2 separate regions of the Homo sapiens genome follow, and region 1 is linked to region 2. Evidence: promoter capture Hi-C in 16 types of primary human blood cells and fetal thymus (Javierre and others, 2016). All regions are on one chromosome and are shown on one strand. Each heading gives the region's core, a stretch centred on a gene start or on the middle of the fragment in contact. The rest is flanking DNA. Distances are from core to core; before and after follow the strand shown. Region 1 overlaps ERC2 (ELKS/RAB6-interacting/CAST family member 2). Region 2 holds the start of WNT5A (Wnt family member 5A).

Region 1 (2,978 bases), core at 116-2,615, 260 kb before region 2:
ACAGCTTTGTGAGTAGGGATGCCCCTGATAGTAATGCCCACCATTCCTGTGGGGTTTTGCAGTTTTCCAGATGCTTTCCTGTGGGGGATCTTCTGTGAACCTCTTAGTGACCTCGGGGGTAGGTAATATCATTTTTATTTTATAGATTCCCACAGCTAAGATACGTAAAGTCAAGTGACTTGTCAAAGGCACATATATAAAATTGGATGACTGTCTTTCTATGTTACCCCTGTTTTCTGTTTTCTATGCCTTATAGTATTGGCAGTGGGATTGGGGGGAAGTATGTTGAAGGTTCAGACTTCTCTCCCCTTTCTCACTGGAATTGAGAAATCACAGCCCATCCAGGAGCAACCATGTGATCTGCTCTGCCCACCGAGTTCTGAAGTATTGCTGTCACCCACTTGGGGAGTTCCAGCAGTGTGCATTGTGAGTCTCTCTCTTCCCCATGGACTTGGTTAGCAACTTTGTGATTTGGCTTCAGTCCTTGGGCATCCCTAGAAATGAAATAAATATACAATCAAATGAAATAAACATCCGAGCACCAGTTGTAGAGCTGCGGTCGGCTGCTCTTACTGACGGCAGCATTGTGACTGAGGGGGTGGTCCTCTTATCGGAATTCAGCCAACTTCTCACTTGATTCAAAGTGAATCTGTTTTTTCTGTGTCAAGAGTATCTCAACTTAGAACAATGCTAGACATAATCTATTTTATTTTGAGACATAAAATTATAAATACCCGGGTTCGAATCTCTACTTTGCCATCTACTAGCCATGTAAACTTGAGTAAGTTAATTCACTCCTTTCTGCCTCTCTTTTCTTATCTGTCAAATGGGAACATAATGGCACCTTCCTCATTAGATTGTTGTGCAGCTCAAATGAGTTAGTACACATAAAGGACTTAGAATGGTATAGTCTTTGGCACAGAAAATGTGCTGGTGTGTGTTAGCTATGTATTTCCTATTGTAGGCTCTATGGCCTGTCCCTTGTTCAGCAGTCTTGGCAAAACTGTTCAATTATCTTGAAACAGGCCAATAGAGCGCTGGTAAACCAGGTCAATAGAAAAAACAAAATCCCTGATTGGTAGTGATTGCCAATTTCCATCGTGTAAATACTTCTACCATGGCCAAGGTACAGGCTGACCCTTGTCAGTTGGAAGGAGATGCACATAATTGACTCTCGCTAGCTAGCAGCCAGCTCCAGCACACCATAGAAATAGACCCCTTAGCTGTAAGATCATTAGAGAGCTGCCAATTAGGATGACCCTCAGCTCATAGCTGTCCCTTTTTCTTTTGGTGTGATCCCATTATTTAGGGTGTGTTTCTAGTGATGGGGAAATCAGGCCATAACTGATTGACCTAGGTGGGGCTAACAGATTTTCTTTCCAGGAAGGTCAAACATTACTCTTTTTCCATTAAGCCTGGAGGTTGTAACAAAGTTATTCTGTAAACAGTAGGTCTTCTGAAGAAAGGTTTAGGATTTCCTGCTACTGAGGGTACTGGAGCAACTTTCTCACTGACCCTCCTAAAGCTCACTTGTTAGCTCTTTTCTTTTCCTCAGTTTATTCAAGTATCCCTCTAACACTTCCTCTTTTTGCTAAGTTAGCCAGAATTAGTTTCTTTTGCTTGCAATCCAAATAAACCCAACCAAAGCATGTGTTTAGTCACATCATTCCTCCATTGTTAGAATTATTTCCCTGGGATTTTCTCGACATTGCCTTCTGTTGTTTGTACCAACACTGTCAGAGATGGGTATGAGGGAGCCCAGGCCATTGCTGACAGCTCTGACTTAGCCAGAGTTGCTCCTGTTACTAACTTGGCCTCAGCCTTACCTACTTGTGACTTTCATCCTTAAGTCCTAGTTCAAATCTTAGGGTGCCCCTGGAGCAAGCCTCATCTATGTTACTCTAGCAGATAATTGAAGGGATAACTACCATGTTCCCAAGTCTTCTCTGTTGCTGATTACTCCCACATTCATATTCCACCAATATATATATACATATTGTGCTAAAATCCAACAAAATGAACAAACGAAAGAGAGGCAGAGTATGTCATATTTTACACTAGGCCCTTCTTGCCACCTTTAGAAATAATTTTCCTAAAGATTGGCATTGACCAACTCAGCTTTTCTTTCCTTCTGTGGTCACTGAAGACCCCTAGAAGGACCTGGAGCTCGAGCTCTTGTCTGATGGGGCCTATTTGTGAAATAAAGAGATTATTCTCCACTTATATCCTAAAGATACCATATTGGAAACAGACATTGGCAAAGGGACGGTCACTCAGTACAAACAATTTGGGTTCAACATGGCATTTATAAGGCAGCCAGCTTGGAAGTGCCAAACACTTTTCACAAGGAAAGCCCTTACCTATGCAGAACAGAAGAGGATGTTCCTCACACATACCCTGATAGTAACATGCAGCAATCACGTGAATGTTTTCCAGACCGTGGAAGTCATGGACCAATCATAGGAAAAAATATTTTTTGCCAACAACATATGCTTGCTAACCTAATTAAGCTATTAAATAAGACTATTCAAGTGTTAACTATTATCATCATCATTTGAGAAAGGGTCATTTTAATTCCAAACATTAGAAAGGACATTACTGAATGTCACAATAAAAAGCTGCTGTTCCCCAGAAAACAACTTACACATAATGTTCCTACATCCTCATGTGTGCATGCGGGCATGCGTGAAAACGTCAGCACTGGCCAAACCAGTCTTTCCGTTGGCACTTAAGGCATTCTTTATTTGACCACATTTCTTCCTTGGTGGTGGTATTCTAGCATCCTTGAAAGTTATGCAACTAGGAACAGGCATAAGTAAGCAAAAGAGAATTTTAATCGACTGAATCATCTCAACTCTCAATCAGACACTTACCCCATCTGGAAGCCACTCTTTTCCTTCCAGAGCCCTTCCATTCCTACCCTCCCTTCATACTCAGCTGTCACCCTTATCCTCTGTGAAGCCTGCCCCCATCATCCC
Region 2 (2,743 bases), core at 129-2,628:
GGACCTCTCTCTTTCAGCAGATGCCGCGGGGGATGGGGAACTTAGAGAAGGGGAGACAAGGAGAGTGTACCCCGCCTCCCGGCACCCCAGCCCGTAGTACGGCTTTAAAATCCTGCAGAGTTTGTCATAGGCCGGCCTCACCACGCATGCGCATAGCAAAGTTGAGTTTTTTCTTTCTTCCCCCCCCTTCCCTCTCTCTTTCCAGCCGCCCCTAGTTCTGAAACTTTAAAGAACTTTTTTCTTTCTTTCTTTCTTTCTTTTTTTTTTTTTCTTCCTTCTGAGAACACCAGGGGAAAGAGGAGTCTGGAGAGAGGGAGGGAGAGAGTAAGGCAGTTGGCCAGAAGGGCTGGGGGGTGGGAGGGGGGGACGCGTCCCCGCGGTCGGTCAGTCTGTTTGCGGGGCACAGGATCGCGTGGAAATCTGCTGCGAGCTCCACGGAGCCGCCTCCGCCGCCCAGAGCCGGGGTCCGTGCGGCAGCTGCCCAGCGAGCCCTTCCGCCGCCGCCGTTGTGCCCGGGACCGCCCGCCTCCCGCCGGCCCGCTCTCCCGCCCCTCGGACCCGGGCGCCAAACGAGGAGGTGGGCAGCTTCGCCGGCCATGGACCGCCGGAGCTGAGTCGCCGCCGCGGAGCTCCGAGCTCTCGCCCTTCCCCAGCCTCGCGCCCGCGGTGCACTCGCTGCTCTTCGCCCTTCGCCCTGGAAAAACGGGGAAAAGAGAGATCAACCCGAAGAGAGAAAGAACGGGATACGTGGTGGGGGGGGGGAGCCCGCGTCTCCCCTGGGTTAGTCGCACCCCTCCAGCTCACCGCACAGCAATAAGTTCCGGGGCGACTTTCACCTATTTTGCTCCCCGTTTTTGCCGAACCCTAAAATGAAAGGACACAATTTGGGGCTGACTCTTGCAGCTCAGATGGCGACTTGTGCGTTTTCAGCGGCATCTCCCGGAGAAAAAGCCATGCGCGCCTGATTGTTCTGTGGCCCCAAAGCTGCAGCGGGGGTGTGTGTGTTGGGGTGTGTGTCTGTGTGTGTACAGAGACGTCCACACTAACTCGCGGCTGCAGGATCAGCGTCTGGAAGCAGACGTTTCGGCTACAGACCCAGAGAGGAGGAGCTGGAGATCAGGAGGCGTGAGCCGCCAAGAGTTTGCAGAATCTGTGGTGTGAATGAACTGGGGGCACCTGGGCGCACAGATCGCCCCCCTTCCCCCGCCCCGGGCCACAGTTGAGTAGTGGTACATTTTTTTCACCCTCTTGTGAAGAATTTCTTTTTATTATTATTTGTCGTAAGGTCTTTTGCACAATCACGCCCACATTTGGGGTTGGAAAGCCCTAATTACCGCCGTCGCTGATGGACGTTGGAAACGGAGCGCCTCTCCGTGGAACAGTTGCCTGCGCGCCCTCGCCGGACCGGCGGCTCCCTAGTTGCGCCCCGACCAGGCCCTGCCCTTGCTGCCGGCTCGCGCGCGTCCGCGCCCCCTCCATTCCTGGGCGCATCCCAGCTCTGCCCCAACTCGGGAGTCCAGGCCCGGGCGCCAGTGCCCGCTTCAGCTCCGGTTCACTGCGCCCGCCGGACGCGCGCCGGAGGACTCCGCAGCCCTGCTCCTGACCGTCCCCCCAGGCTTAACCCGGTCGCTCCGCTCGGATTCCTCGGCTGCGCTCGCTCGGGTGGCGACTTCCTCCCCGCGCCCCCTCCCCCTCGCCATGAAGGTAGGTGTTCAGTGCGCTGCCACTTTTTTTCTTTACTTCCCCCCACCCCCTGTTGGAAGTTAACTGAGTTCCCTTCGCCTCTTCCTATCCCTCCATTTCCCCAACCGCCTGAAGAAGCTGGAACTCCAGCGTCGCTGGCAGGAACCCCTACCCCTTCGCCCTCCACGCCGGGCGCACTGCCTCAGTGTCCCAGGAGATCACTTCTGGTCGCACCACCCGTTCTGCAAACAATTTTGATTTTTGAGAAAAAGTGGGGAAGAGCGATAGTAGACAAACTGAGTGCGGTTCACTGACGACTTTCCTTTTGCTCTGAGAACATCGAGTGTAATTTACTATGTATATTTCAGTAACAGGATAATGATTCAATTCAACAAATATTTACCAAGCGCCCACTGCGCGGGCACCGGGACGGTGTGTGGCCGGGGCTCGGGATGGGGAAAGGGACTCCTTGGTTGAGAGAACCCGCAGAGGAACTAGGGGCCAACTACTCCAGAGCGGCGTACACCTTCCCCGACACCCCCCCGCACCGACGGAGGCCAGATTGTAGGCTTGCCTTGGCCGAGTAACTCGAGCGCTTCAGGCCCCTTTGCCTTTAAGAGTGCCTGGCGGGGGGCCAGCGCGCACCCCGGCGCGGGGAGCGGGGTCGCGTTATTAGCATTATTAGCCGCCACTGGGTGAGCTCAGGCACTTTGCAGCAGTGGTGGGGGCGGGGAGTTGTGGTGGTAGTGGCTGTAATCCCGTACTCCGGGACAGCGCTCCCCGGCCCCCTGAGCGGAGTCCGCCTTGTCCTTTAGAAAACACTTGGGCCTCCGCTTTGGGAGAGCAGGCGGGGGCCAGTTTGCGAACTCTTGTTTGTTTTAATTGTCAGTTGTATGTTAAAGCCGAATCACACACTCCGAGGGTCACTGAGAGTTCACTTTTACGAAAAGTTAACGTTTCTTCCTGCAACATAAGTTTTTATTTTCTAAACAATTTTTCTTATCTGTCCTCCAAGCTTCGATTCCTATTTCCATTTTTCTGGTCTTTCCCATTTTAAGTT

Evidence for each region. The method cuts DNA at HindIII sites, captures the fragments that hold promoters and counts their contacts. A CHiCAGO score of 5 or more calls a contact.
Region 1: a fragment that was not itself captured here is called in contact with the fragment with the promoter of WNT5A in region 2 in 2 of 17 cell types (M2 macrophages and M1 macrophages); the score reaches 5.2 in M2 macrophages.

What each region holds. Positions count from the first base shown.
Region 1 is chr3:55,750,526-55,753,503 of GRCh38, reverse strand. The region is part of intron 14 of ERC2 (ELKS/RAB6-interacting/CAST family member 2); the gene reads left to right. Among named protein-coding and RNA genes, the nearest start is that of ERC2-IT1, 93 kb to the right of the region's middle. The HindIII fragment of the contact is 4,718 bases long and covers 1-2,978 here.
Region 2 is chr3:55,485,941-55,488,683 of GRCh38, reverse strand. It overlaps WNT5A (Wnt family member 5A), which reads left to right and starts at 1,378. Exons shown (of 5, transcript NM_003392.7): 1 at 1,378-1,704. The coding sequence starts at 1,699. WNT5A-AS1 (WNT5A antisense RNA 1) reads right to left here and starts at 1,066. Exons shown (of 2, transcript NR_046656.1): 1 at 805-1,066; 2 at 376-694. The HindIII fragment of the contact is 5,010 bases long and covers 1-2,700 here.